Regions from separate parts of the Homo sapiens genome. Here region 1 is linked to region 2. Evidence: promoter capture Hi-C in 16 types of primary human blood cells and fetal thymus (Javierre and others, 2016). All regions are on one chromosome and are shown on one strand. Each heading gives the region's core, a stretch centred on a gene start or on the middle of the fragment in contact. The rest is flanking DNA. Distances are from core to core; before and after follow the strand shown.

The links. Contacts are between HindIII fragments. The CHiCAGO score rates a contact against its expected background, and 5 or more counts as called.
Region 1: a fragment that was not itself captured here is called in contact with the fragment with the promoter of PPP6C in region 2 in 2 of 17 cell types (endothelial precursors and megakaryocytes); the score reaches 5.5 in endothelial precursors.

What each region holds. Positions count from the first base shown.
Region 1 is chr9:125,371,049-125,377,349 of GRCh38, forward strand. No RefSeq gene overlaps it. Among named protein-coding and RNA genes, the nearest start is that of GAPVD1, 110 kb to the left of the region's middle. RefSeq lists an enhancer at 30-530. The HindIII fragment of the contact is 3,508 bases long and covers 629-4,136 here.
Region 2 is chr9:125,187,345-125,193,844 of GRCh38, forward strand. It overlaps PPP6C (protein phosphatase 6 catalytic subunit), which reads right to left and starts at 2,459. Exons shown (of 7, transcript NM_002721.5): 1 at 2,300-2,459. The coding sequence starts at 2,374. RefSeq lists enhancers at 1,781-2,567, 2,568-3,354, 2,657-2,736. The HindIII fragment of the contact is 2,825 bases long and covers 285-3,109 here.

The DNA of each region.
Region 1 (6,301 bases), core at 1,133-3,632, 180 kb after region 2:
TTGCTAGGCTCAGGAACTGGAAGATGGATCTAATCTGAGCTCTGTCTCTAACCAGACCTAAGGCAAGTGGCAACTCCTTTGAAGGCGTTTCCTGATTTGGGCTTTATTACCTCACGGATCCCCTGCAGTTTTACCATCTACATAAAATCTTGAACTATTTCTCCTGTACTGGCCTTTAATGGAGGGGGTGGTTAAAGTGCAGGGACACAGTGGAGGCTGCCAGGAGCACGGGGGTGTCCGGAACCCTTGATCAGGAAGGCTGCCCACTGAGCTGACTCAAGAGGGGACTTGATAGTCTTGCCACTGAACACAAGTTCAGGCCCCAAGCTGCTTTTTGTTTTTTGAGACGGAGTTTCGCTCTGTTGCCCAGGCTGGAGTGCTATGGCGCGATTTTGGCTCACTGCAACCTCCACTTCCCAGGTTCAAGCAATTCTCCTGCCTCAGACTCCCAAGTAGCTGGGATTACAGGCACATGCCACCATGCCCGTCTAATTTTTGTATTTTTAGTAGAGATGGGGGTTTCACCATGTTGGCCAGGCTGGTCTCGAACTCCTGACCTCAGGTGATCTGCCCGCCTTGGCCTCCCAAAGTGCTAGGATTACAGGCATGAGCCATTGTGCCTGGCCCAAGCTTCTTTTTAACCTGGTATATTGTGGGTGAGGAGACAGGCCAGGGAATCCTGGAAAGGTGCCTCCTCTGACACCGGTCAGCAGGGCAGTTGCCAGGGAGGGCCTGCGCTGGACTTGCCAGGAGCACAAGGACCACCTGTGCACAGGGCAGACACTCAGAGCCCTTTTTGGTGGTTGTTACTATTTATCTTTTTTTTTTTTTTTTTTAGACAGGGTCTTGCTCTATCACCCAGGCTGGAGTGCAGTGGTAAGATCATGGCTCACTGCAGCCTCGACCTCCCAGGCTCAAGTGATCCTCCCACCCCAGCCTCCTGAGTAGCTGGGACTACAGGTGCATGCCGCCACGCCTGGCTAATTTTTTTGTATTTTTTATAGGTGGGGTCTCGCTATATTGCCTAAGCTGGTCTTCAACTCCTGGGCTTAAGCTATCCTCCTGCCTCAGCCTCCAAAAGTGCTGAGATTACCGGTGTGAGCTACCGCGCCTGGACATTATTAATCTTTTATTGTTATAATAGCTTAATGGGAGAAGAAAAGATTGTGGTCTATGCATGTATGAAAATTAAGAAGATCATGTTGTAGATTGATTTGCAGGATTTTTTAAAGGCGCCCTGCCTTTTTTCCTCAGCGGGGTTCTTGAGCATCCATCGGTGATCGGTGGTCGCTTCTCGCAAATCTTCTGTTTCATTTATTTTGGTTGCTAAGTAGGGAGATCCACCTTTATCTGGGTGATTCAAAATCACGATTCTCCTGTGAGCTGCTCTAATCTTAGCCTTGCCAGCAGGTGAACTTACACCTAAAATAACACTAGCTTTTCTCCTACTCATTTTCTGTTCAAATCCTCCTTTGTAATAGGATGACAGGCTAGGAGTTCAAAGGTTCTCTACTGCTTCTGTGATCCTTGTTCTAGAGGTTTCCAGGACTGCGACGCACAGCGACCTGCAAAGGCAAGAGCAGCAGCACCCAGCCCTGCAGCTGTCACAGTTCTTGCCAGTCCCTGCTGGTTGGTATCTGCGTCTGACTGAGGCATTTGGCCAAGGGCGGCAAGTACTCAGTGGGGTGCAGCCCCTTGATGGCAGGGGTGATGCCACCATGGACAGCCAAGAGAACCCATTTTTTTATTTTATTCTAGATTCAGGAGGTACCTGTGCTTGTTTGTTACATGGGTATTACATGCATAATGATGGGGTTGGGTTCCTAGCCTACCCATCACCCAAATATTGGACACTGTACCCAGGAGGCAGTTTATCAACTAACAGGCTGGGTTGTGAGCTCAAGTCCCTTTCCACTGTGGTCATAAACAGTAACCACAGTGGAGTGATTCCTGACACATGATGCCTTTCTGGGTCCAGATACTTTCATCCCTATGTGCCCCACCCTACACGCCTCTTTGTCACTCATGCCTGCCGCTGCCCAGCCTTCTTCCCTGGCCCAGGCTCTGGATTGCCCAAACCTCCTGAGGGGCCCTTGGCAAATGTCTCTTTTGTGTTGTGCGTGTGTGTGTGGCAGGGTCTCACTTTGTCGCCCAGGCTGGAGTGCAGTGGCACAATCTCGGCTCACTGCAACCTCTGCCTCTTGGGTTCAAGCGATTCTCCTGCCTCAGCCTCCTGAGAAGCTGGGACTACAGGTACACGCCACCATGCCTGGCTAATTTTTGTGCTTTTGGTAGAGACAGTGTTTCACCATGTTGGCCAGGCTGGTCTCGAACTCCTGACCTCAAGTGATCTACCCGCCTTGGCTTCCCAAAGTGCTGGGATTACAGGTGTGAGCCACCGCGCCTGGCTGGGAAATGTCTCTTAAACCTGTCCCCCGCTGCCACAGCCAGTTTTTCCACCTCCACAATCACGACTGACTCCTAGTCTCCCTGCCTCCCTCTCACCCCTTCTCCTAGGTGCCCTTAGAATTCATCAAGTCTGGCCAGGCACGGTAGCTCACACCTGTAATCCCAGAAATTTGGGAAGCCGAGGTGGGTGGATCACCTGAGGTCAGGAATTCGAGACCAGCCTGACCAACATGGAGAAACCCCGTATCTACTAAAAATACAAAATTAGCTGGGCGTGTTGGTGAATGCCTATAATCCCAGCTACTCGAGAGGCTGAGGCAGGAGAATCACTTGAACCCGGGAGGCGTAGGTTGCAGTGAGCCAAGATCACGCCATTGCACTCCAGCCCGGGCAACAAGAGCAAAACTCCACCTCAAAAACAAACAAACAAAAAAATTCATCAAGTCTGAGCAGATTCCTCTTCTGCCTAAAATCTTCTCTTTTCTACCTGGGTTCTGTCCTGCCTTTTCAGCCACATGCCTCTGGTCCTTCTCCTTCCCCTCCAGCCAGCCCCACTCCAGCCACTGAGAACTATCACCTTTCCCAAAGTGCTGCCCTTTGCCGGCCTCTAAGCCTTTGCTGATGCCCAGATCTGACTGCCTCCCCCACAGTCCTTCCTCCTGCCTCAGATGGCCCTTCTGGAGGAAAACCCCAGGTGCCCCCTCCTGCCTCCCTCCTCAGTGAGGCCTCACCCCCATCCCTCCCTCTCCAGAGCAGTGTCTCCCTGGAGCCTGTGCTCCTAGGGGAGGGCATGCCTCCAAATGGCAGGTGTCCCTAATGTTTGCAGATGGGGATGGATGAGAGGCAGAAAGTAGCCCTTCAGGGCGGGGATTCCACCATCTTTTCCTTCCAAATTCAGGCCCTGCTGGGACAGGAACTATCCCTGTCGTGGTCCAGGGCCAGGTAGTTCTTCACGTCCTCTGGGAAGACAGAGTGCCCCAAAGCCCTTGATCTCCAGTGGGTAGAATTAGGTGGGGCAGAGGCTGTGCCACACCAGGTCACACCTCTCCTGTGTCTGCTCCCACCCCACCAAGCACAGGGCCGGGATGAGGATGCCTGGAGCCCAGCTCAGTGCCTGCCTGGGTTGCAGCCCTGATCACACCAAAGTGTCTTGTCTGTTTGCAGCCCTTTATCTGGCTAGCAGGGTTTAATTTTACTCTGGGAAGGTGGGATTTTTGTCCCTATTTACTTATTATTTTCGAATTTATTATCTTTAGGTGGCATCTACAAATCGGCGTCCTCTGAGGGCAACAGCGCCCCGTTCTGCTAGAAATCCCGAGATTTGCAGCCACTGCAGCACGCTGCCTCTGCGGCTTCTCCGCACCATCCCCGACCCCTTCCCCCGCGAGTCTGCCGTCGGCCAGTTTCCTCCCAGGCCCCGGCTTTGCTGTTCCTTGGGTGACATCTTGTGGCCAAGGACAGGTACAAACCATTGGCTGAAAAGGAGGAGCAAAGGCAGCCCTCAGCCCTCTCTGGAGGAGCCTTGGGGCGCCTTCGAGGATGCCCAGGAGGGCAGGGGGCTCCTGAACAGGGAATCGGCTCTCAGACCCCGAATGGGCTTGCACCAAGCCCTTCATGAGACAGCTGTGGCTGGAGCCCAGAATTCACCCAGGCCCCCCGAGGCAGACACACCAGGTTCCTCTCTGCCCACCCTGCGTTGTGGCAAATAATCATTATTCCCGATATAAAGCTTTTCTCTAGCAGCCCAACGACAAGGTTATTATTCCAATCTTACAGATGCAGCAACAGCCCTGAGCCACAGCCAGTGACCTGAGCCCAGCCCACAGGTGCCAACACTGTAAGATCTCACTGGACACAGTCCTGAGAACTGTGGGAGCCACCTGTCCCATTCTCTGGGAAGGTGCTCTGGGGAGGCGCCTGTGTTGTTAGTCATGGCCATGCCTCGAGTTCCAAAACCTTCTTCATGGCCTGGCATGGTGGCTCACGCCTGTAATCCCAGCACTTCGGGAGGCCAAGGCGGGCGGATCACTTGAGGTCAGGAGTTGAGATCAGCCTGGCCAACATGGTGAAACCCTGTCTCTACTAGAAACACAGAAGTTAGGCCGGGTGGTGGTTCACACCTGTAATTTCAGCACTTCGGGAGGCTGAGGCGGGCAGATCACCTGAGGTCAGGAGTTCAAGACCAGCCTGGCCAACATGGTGAAACCCCATCTCTACTAAAAATACAAAATTAGCTGGGCATGGTGGCGCGTGCCTGTAAACCCAGCTACTTGGGAGGCTGAGGCAAGAGAATCACTTGAACCCGGGGGGTGAAGGTTGCAGTGAGCCGAGATCTCGCCATTGCACTCCAGCCTCGGCAACAACAGTGAAACTCCATCTCCAGAAAAAAAAAAAAAAAAAAAAAGAAACACAAAAGTTAGCCTTGGTGTGGTGGCGTGCACCTATAATCTCAGCTACCTGGGGGGCTGAGGCAGGAGAATCGCTTGAACCTGGGGGGTGGAGGTTGCAGTGAGCCGAGATTGCACCACCACACTCCAGCCTGGGTGACAGCGAGACTCCGTGTGCAGGCCCGGGGCTGACGCTTCCCACATGACGTCACAGAGCCTTCACCTGGTAGTGGGCATTGTAAGGGCTGCACTTCACAGATGAGGAAGCCGAGGCTCAGACATGCAAAGGGGTTTATTCAAAGCCACATAGAAAATGCATGGCAGAGCCAGGATCCAAATCCAGGTCTAGAGGATGCCCAAATCTGTACTTTTAGCTACTGAGGGATCCTGTCTGCCCTCTGCAAAACCAGCCCCACAGCATTGTGAGGGCTCATGTGAACTGGGGAGCAAACTGTAGAGGATGGTGCCCACAGCAGGTCCTTATTATCCTGATCCTGGTGTTTACTTCCCATGTGCACTCGAGTCCGTCAAGGGCAGGGCCAGACACCCGGGCATCTGTAGTGCCAGCATGAAGCCTGGTGCCCAGCCGGCATCAGCAGATCAGATTGAATTTGAGCTGCCAGAGCAGGGAAGACCTGCTTTTCCACACGGGGCCCAGGGCCACTTCCCAGTGTCAAGGTCATGGTAAGGACAGACCGACAGTCTCCACCTCCTGATTCAGGAGGAGAAGGGGTGGGTGACCCACGCCTCCTCTTTGCAGCAGGCTGGCACCTGGGCTCGCAGGCAGGGCCCAGAGGGAGGAGGCCTGGCGCTGAGGATCCGCCGCAGGCCCGGGAGGAAGCAGCAGGGCAGGCGGAATATAAATGCGGCTGTGAAGGCAGAGGAACAGATGAGGGAAAGCCTCCAGGTGATTGGGTGGAGAGGCCCCGCCAGGGCGGATGCCTCCTCTCTGTGCACAGACTGAGCCCATGATGAAGATGAATGGAAACCCCTTTGCTGGAAAACATGTGGGTAATCAAGAAGGCTACCGGTGCCGAGGGGCCCTCCCACCTGCCCGGAGCAGGGGAATATTAGGATTTGGAATTTCAGCAGCAGCCACATAGTTAGCACGGAAACTAGGCAAAACTGATATGCAGCCACCATTACAGGATAAATGGTGCAGGGCGCCTGGTAGCTTGGCAGGAGTTAGTGGACTCCAACTGCAGCTGTGGGAATCAGGCAGCTGCTTTCACAAAAGAAAGGCAGCCCGGGTTGGTGAAGACCCAGGGCCCAGCTTCCCACCCCTCCGTAGGGTGGCGTTAGCCACCAGACTTTCCTGCTGGTGGTTGTGGGATTCTCTTCAAGGCTGGTTCAGGGAGGGGATGGGAGATTGTTCTGGGGGTTTCTTAGCATTTGCCAACAAAAACTGAGCTTGCAGCGTTCAGCTCCCACCTGGGAGGCAGGACTGATGAAGACACTGTGTCTCCATCTTTCCAGACCAACAAAATCCCAATTTTTCTCAATAT
Region 2 (6,500 bases), core at 1,209-3,708:
CCCGGCTCACTGCAAGCAATTCTCCCGGGTTCAAGCCATTCTCCCTGCCTCAGCCTCCCAAGTAAGTAAACTGGGATTACAGGCACCTACCACCATGCTCGGCTAATTTCTGTGTTTTTAGTAGAGAGGGGGTTTCACCAAGTCGGTCAGTCTGGTCTCAAACTCCTGATCTCAAATGATCTGCCCACCTCAGCCTCCCCAAGTACTGAGATTACGCCACTGTGCCCTAGACACATTTTCATAAAAAGCAACATTTTATTCATCATAAACACAAAGTTCAAAAAAGCTTTATGCATGATAAATAAGAAGAAAAAATTCCATGTCAATTCACTGACATGCAATAGTCAACCTCACCTATGGGATTAATAATGCTACTAAGAGGTCTGGTTAGTTTTCCATGAATTGGGTCCCAATGCTAGTTGTATTCTTATTCCCTTAAAAAAACCACATAGCAGAAAGAAGCCACAAAAGGAATGTCTGAAGGACTCAGATGAGCACAAATGCTACATTACTACTAACGAAGGCTGTCCTTATTTGAAATTATTCTATTAAAAACGGGAAAATGCACAAGAATGACTCCCCTATCATATGCCACATAAAATTAACAGGTAAGTACAATTCAGTCACATTCACAACAGCACGTGTGGCCTCAAATATTATGCATACTTGTTGACTGATGTTAAGTATCAACTTACTGTACAAAGAAGAAATAAAACAAAACCCACAGTAATATATTTCCTTAAGAATACACTGAGTCGGGGCTGGGCACGGTGGCTTACGCCTGTAATCCCAGCACTTTGGGAGGCCGAGGCGGGCGGATCACGAGTTCAGGAGATCGAGACCATCCTGGCTAACACGGTGAAACCCCGTCTCTACTAAAAATACAAAAAATTAGCCAGGCGTGGTGGCGGGCACCTGTAGTCCCAGCTACTCGGGAGACTGAGGCAGGAGAATGGCGTGAACCCGGGAGGCGGAGGTTGCAGTGAGCCGAGATGGTGCCACCGCACTCCGGCCTGGGCGACAGAGCGAGACTCCGTCTCAAAAAAAAAGAATACACTGAGTCGGTTAAATACTAGCACGAGCTGATAAGCACTGCTAGAAACCTAAGCTCTGATTTCAGCAAATGCATAGAAACACTTTTCAAAGAAGCAGTATACCTAGGCCGGCGCGGTGGCTCACGCCTGTAATACCAGCACTTTGGTAGGCCGAAGCGGGCGGATCACTTGAGGTCAGGAGTTCAAGACCAGCCTGGCCAACATGGCGAAACCCCGTCTCTACTAAAAATACAAAACAGCCGGGCGTCGTGACGGGCGCCTGTAATTCCACCTAGTCGGGAGGCTGAGGCAGGAGAATCGCTTGAACCCGGGAAGTGGAGGTTGCAGTGAGCCAAGATCGCACCGCTGCACTCCAGCCTGGGTGACAGAGTGAGACTCTATCTCAGTTAAAAACAATAATAATAATAATAATAATAATAATTAAAAAGTTTTAAAAAAGAAAAGCAGTATACCAAAGTCATTCCTTTACCCATACATACATTTACTCTTACTTGGACTCAGGAGTAACAAGGAACTCACCTCCTTTAGAAAACGAAGAAAATGAAATACTGAGTTAAGAAGGGGTTAAGGAGAAAGTATTTGTATTTATTGAGAACCAACTACTTTATCCACTTCAGTAAGCTCAACAACATACTCAGAAACGGGATTCACCTCTGAATTAGCAAAACCGACGATCCTAAAAAGCAATTTGGAGGAGTGGCAATGAAGAGGGACGACCTGACGTTCGCTCCCGCCAGTACCAAACCACTCGGGCCCACCGCCTTCCCCTTCCTCAGAGACCTAAACACACTGAGGCCGCGTTCCGGTAGCCGGTGGCATCTCCTGTCAGACGCCGGCCACTCCGCGCTCCTGTCACCTCCGGTGGAGGCGACCCCATCCCGAGGGCACTGCCGCGGGGGCTCGGCTCCGACTGCGGGAGACCCAGGGATGGGGTGGGGAGCCGAGCCTTCTAAATAAAGCTGTTACAGCTGCGGGTCCTGGGGCAGCCCGAAGGCCAGAAGGGGCGACCCTGGGACAGAGGCCGCGACATCCCTCGGGATCCCCACTGAGGCAACCGGGACAGCATTCGACGACTCGGCTCGCGAGACCCTCGGCGTGACGCCGGGTAGGACCGGGTCGACTGGCAATGGGGGAGGCCCTCCACCGCGACTGGACTGGATACCCGGCGGGGGTCCTGGAGAAAGGAAGGGCCGGCCGGCGGGCGCCCCACAGCCGGAAGGGGCGAGCCCGCAAATAGGGCTCACCTTCAGGTCGTTCTCTGGCAGGTACTTGCACAGCCGCGCTATTTCCACATACTTGTCCAGGTCTAGCGGCGCCATTTTAAGAATAACAAGCCGCGGCAACAGCGGCGGCGGCGGCTGTAGCAGCGGCGGCGGCAGCGGCGGAGGCCGAAGCCGGAACTTTCCCTGCGTCACGTCCGGCCCGTGAGTGGCGCCTGCGCAGCGCCGTTAAAGCGCGACCCGTTTCTCCCCGCTACGTCGGTACGCCCGGCGCCCCCTCTGGCTGAACCCCGACTGCAGGCCCCAAGAGAGCCCGCTTCGGTCCACCCCGCGAAACCTGCTGGGACCCGTAGTCGTCTGCCGCGGGGGTGCTGGGATGTGTAGTTTTCTGTTGTGGACAGCCACCCCTCTCTTTTCCTCCCGTTCCTCCAGACTTTCACCTCCCGGCAGCCGGCGAGGCTTTTCCGAGGCAAAACAGCGGAGTAGGTGGTCCTAGCCACTCACTGGTTTGTTTTTCCAACCCTTTTAAGCACTCTCCAGAATATCTTCACTTAACAATTGGGTAAGCCTGGCCGTAGTAACCGTTTGCACCTTTCCAAGTCCCTGTGAAAACCTCGCCTAAGCCTGTGGCAGAGATGTCAGGCCCCAGTCTTCCAGCCTGAAAGGAAGGGAAACGAATATTATTAAAGCATTTCTGATGCTAAATGCGATACAAATGATATTTTTCCTTTTAATCTTCGTAACGATTGATAGGAAAGTGAGGCTAGGAAACTGCAGTTCACCCCAAATCTCACAGGGAACAAAATGGTGGGGTCAAGATTGAAAAATGGCTTAAGCTTAAGCATGCTTCCAGTGAGAATCCCACGAGGGCAGGGAGTTTTTTGCTGTAACTCCAGCACCGAGAACAGTACCTGGTACTAGCATACCTTCAGCGTTCGTTTATCCAACCACTCTTTGCTGAGCAACAAAGATGTGCCAGGTACAGCTCAAGGCGCTTGCAGTACTTCGTGAACAAAATAGACAAAGATCTCTATTCTATCTGTAGCTACAAAAAGTACCAAAATTAGCCTGGCGCGGTAGTGCGTGCTTGTGGTCCCAGCTACTCTGGAGGCTGAGGCAGGAGAACCGCTTGAGTTGGGAGGCGGAGGTTGCAGTGAGCTGAGATCGCGGCACTGCACTCCAGCTTGGGCGACAGAGCGAGATCCTCCTCAAAAATAAATTAGTAAAAGGAGCTGCTGTATGGGACTAGGGGTGGGGGTGCAATGCCTATAGCTAAGAGACCAGTTAAGAGACTGTTATGTAATCCAATAGTAGCAGGCGCTCAATAAATATTTGTTGCTCAAGAGACCCTGGAATTAATCCTCTTGCTCTCTAAAGTATATTTTGTGGACAATTGGCTAACCCTGAATGAGATATCTGGGTGAACTTCTTTGTATTATTCTTGTAACTCCTCTGAAAGTATGAAATTGTTTCAAAGTAAAATTAATTTTTAGAAGTTTGTTGCAGAATGAATGATGCCCACAAGCATTCATTTCTTCATTCATTAAACTAATAGTTACATAGTGCCTATTGGCCAGGCCGCGGTGGCTAATGCCTGTAATCTCAGCACTTTGGGAGGCCAAGGCAGGCAGATCACCTGACGTCAGGAGTTCAAGACCAGCCTGGCCAACATGCCGAAACCCCATCTCTACTAAAAATACAAAATACTGGGGAGGCTGAGGCAGGAGGATCACTTGAATTGCTTGAGGCAGAGGTTGCAGTGAGCTGAGATGGCGCCACTGTACTCCAGCCTGGGCCACAGAGTGAAACTCCATCTCAAAGAGAAAAGAAACCAGAGGTTACACAGTGCTTATGATGTGAATAAAACAGATATGATCCCTGCCCTAATCAGGCTTACAATCTGCTGGGAAGAGACAAACAGTATTTATTTATTTATTTACATTTACTGGTTTATTATTAATATAAAGGATATTACAAAGGATACAAATGAAGAGATGCATAGGGTGAGGTAATTAAAATTTTTGTTTTTGTTGAGGCCGGGTGCAGTGGCTCAAACTTGTAATCCCAGTAGTGAAGCCAAGGTGAGCAGATATCTTGAGGCTAGGAATTCAAGACCATCCTGGCCAACATGGTGAAACCTGATCTCTACTAAAAATACAAAAATTAGCTGGGCATTGTAGCACATGCCTGTAATCCCAGCTACTCCGGAGTCTGAGGCATGAAAATTGCTTTGAGGTGGGGGTTACAGGGAGCTGAGGTCGTGCCACTGCACTCCAGCCTGGCCAACAGAAAAAAAAAAAAAATTGTTGAGGTGAGGTCTTGCTGAGGCTGGTTTTAAATTCCTGGCCTCAAGCTATTCCGCTGCTTTGGCCTCCCAAAGTGCTGGGATTATACGTGTAAGCCACCATACCTGGCAGTGAGCAAATATTTAATTGCAAATTGTGATTAGTACTCAAAAGGGAAAATAGGAGGTACTATAAGCAAGAAAAATGGAGTAGACGAGGTCTACCTTTGGCTGGGCACAGTGGCTCACGCCTGTAATCCCAGCATTTTGGGAGACCGAGGCGGGCAGGTCTTTTTGAGGTCAGGAGTTCCTGACCAGCTGAGATCCCACCACTGCACTCTAGCCTGGGAGAGAAAGTGAGACCCTGTCTAAAAAAAAAAAAAAAACAAAAAACTACATTTTCTTACCTGTACTTGTGTCCTTTGGGGGAAAAAAAAGGGCCCAGCATGGTGGCACACGCCTGTAATCCCAGCACTTTGGGAGGCCGAGGCGGACGGATCATGAGGTCAGGAGTTTGAGACCAGCCTGGTCAATATAGTGAAACCCTGTCTCTACTAAAAATACAAAAAATTAGCCGGGTATGGTGGTGTGTGCCTGTAATCTCAGCTACTTGGGAGGCTGAGGCAGGAGAATTGCGTGAACCTGGGAGATGGAGGTTGCGGTTGCAGTGAGCTGAGATAGCGTCATTGCACTCCAGCCCGGGTGACAATGCAAGGCTCCGTCTTAAAAAAAAGAAAAAGAAAAAAAGAAAGAAAGAAAAAGAAAAACTTAGCCTGGTGTGGTGGCACGTGCCTGTGATCCCAGCTACTCAGGAGACTGAAGCAGGAGAATCACTTGAACCTGGGAGGCAGAGGTTGCAGTGAGCCGAGATCGCACCACTGCACTCCAGCCTGGACAACAGAGCGAGACTCCGTCTCAAAAAAAAGAGGCCTACTTTAGGTTGATAACACAGAGGAGGTAAAGTACAGGATGTAGCTTCTAGCACCATGTGGGCAGAGTTCAAATACAGGCTCTACCACTTATTGTGTGATTTTGGTTTGGAGAAGTTATTTATCCTTTCTGTACTCCAGTTTTCTCAGCTCCAATATGGAGATAATAATAATGCTTACCTCCTCTGGAGATTGTAAGAATACTACTTACCTCATAGGCTTGTACAAAGGTTTAACAGAGTTGGTATATGAAAATGGCTTAAAACAATGTCTGGGCCGGGCACAGTGGCTCATACTTGTGATTCCAACACTTTGAGAGGCCAAGGCAGGAGGATCACTTGAGCCAAGGAGTTCAAGACCAGACTGGGCAACATAGTGAGACCTCATCTCTACCAAAAAAAAAAAAAAATTAAAATTAGCCAGGTTTGGTGCTGGCACATACCTGTAGACCCAGCTACTCTAAAGACTGATGTGGGAGGATCACTTGAGCCCAGGAGGCCAAGGCTGCAGTGAGCTGTGATTGTGTCACTGTACTACATCAGGGTGACAGTGAGACTCTGTCTCAAAACAAAAAACAAAGACAAAAAAACATTGTCTAGCACAGAGTGAGTGCAATATGAGTGTTAACTCTGAGTATTAGGTGGGCAGGAAAGGCATTTCTGAAGGTGTAACATGTAAGACTTCAGAAAAAAAAATGTAGGAGGCTGGGCATGGTGGCTCACGCCTGTAATCACAGCACTTTGGGAGGCCCAGGCGGGCAGATCACTTGAGGTCAGGAGTTCAAGACAGGCCTGGTCAACATGGTGAAACCCCGTCTCTACTAAAAATACAAAAATTAGCCAGGCATGGTGGTGCATGCCTGTAATCCCACCTACTGGGAAGGCTGAGGCAGGAGAATCGCTTGAACCCGGGAGGCAGAGGTTGCATTGAGCCGACATTGCGCCACTGCACTCCAGACTGGGTGACAAAGCGAGACTCCATCAAAAAGAAAGAAAGAGAGAAAGAGAGAGAG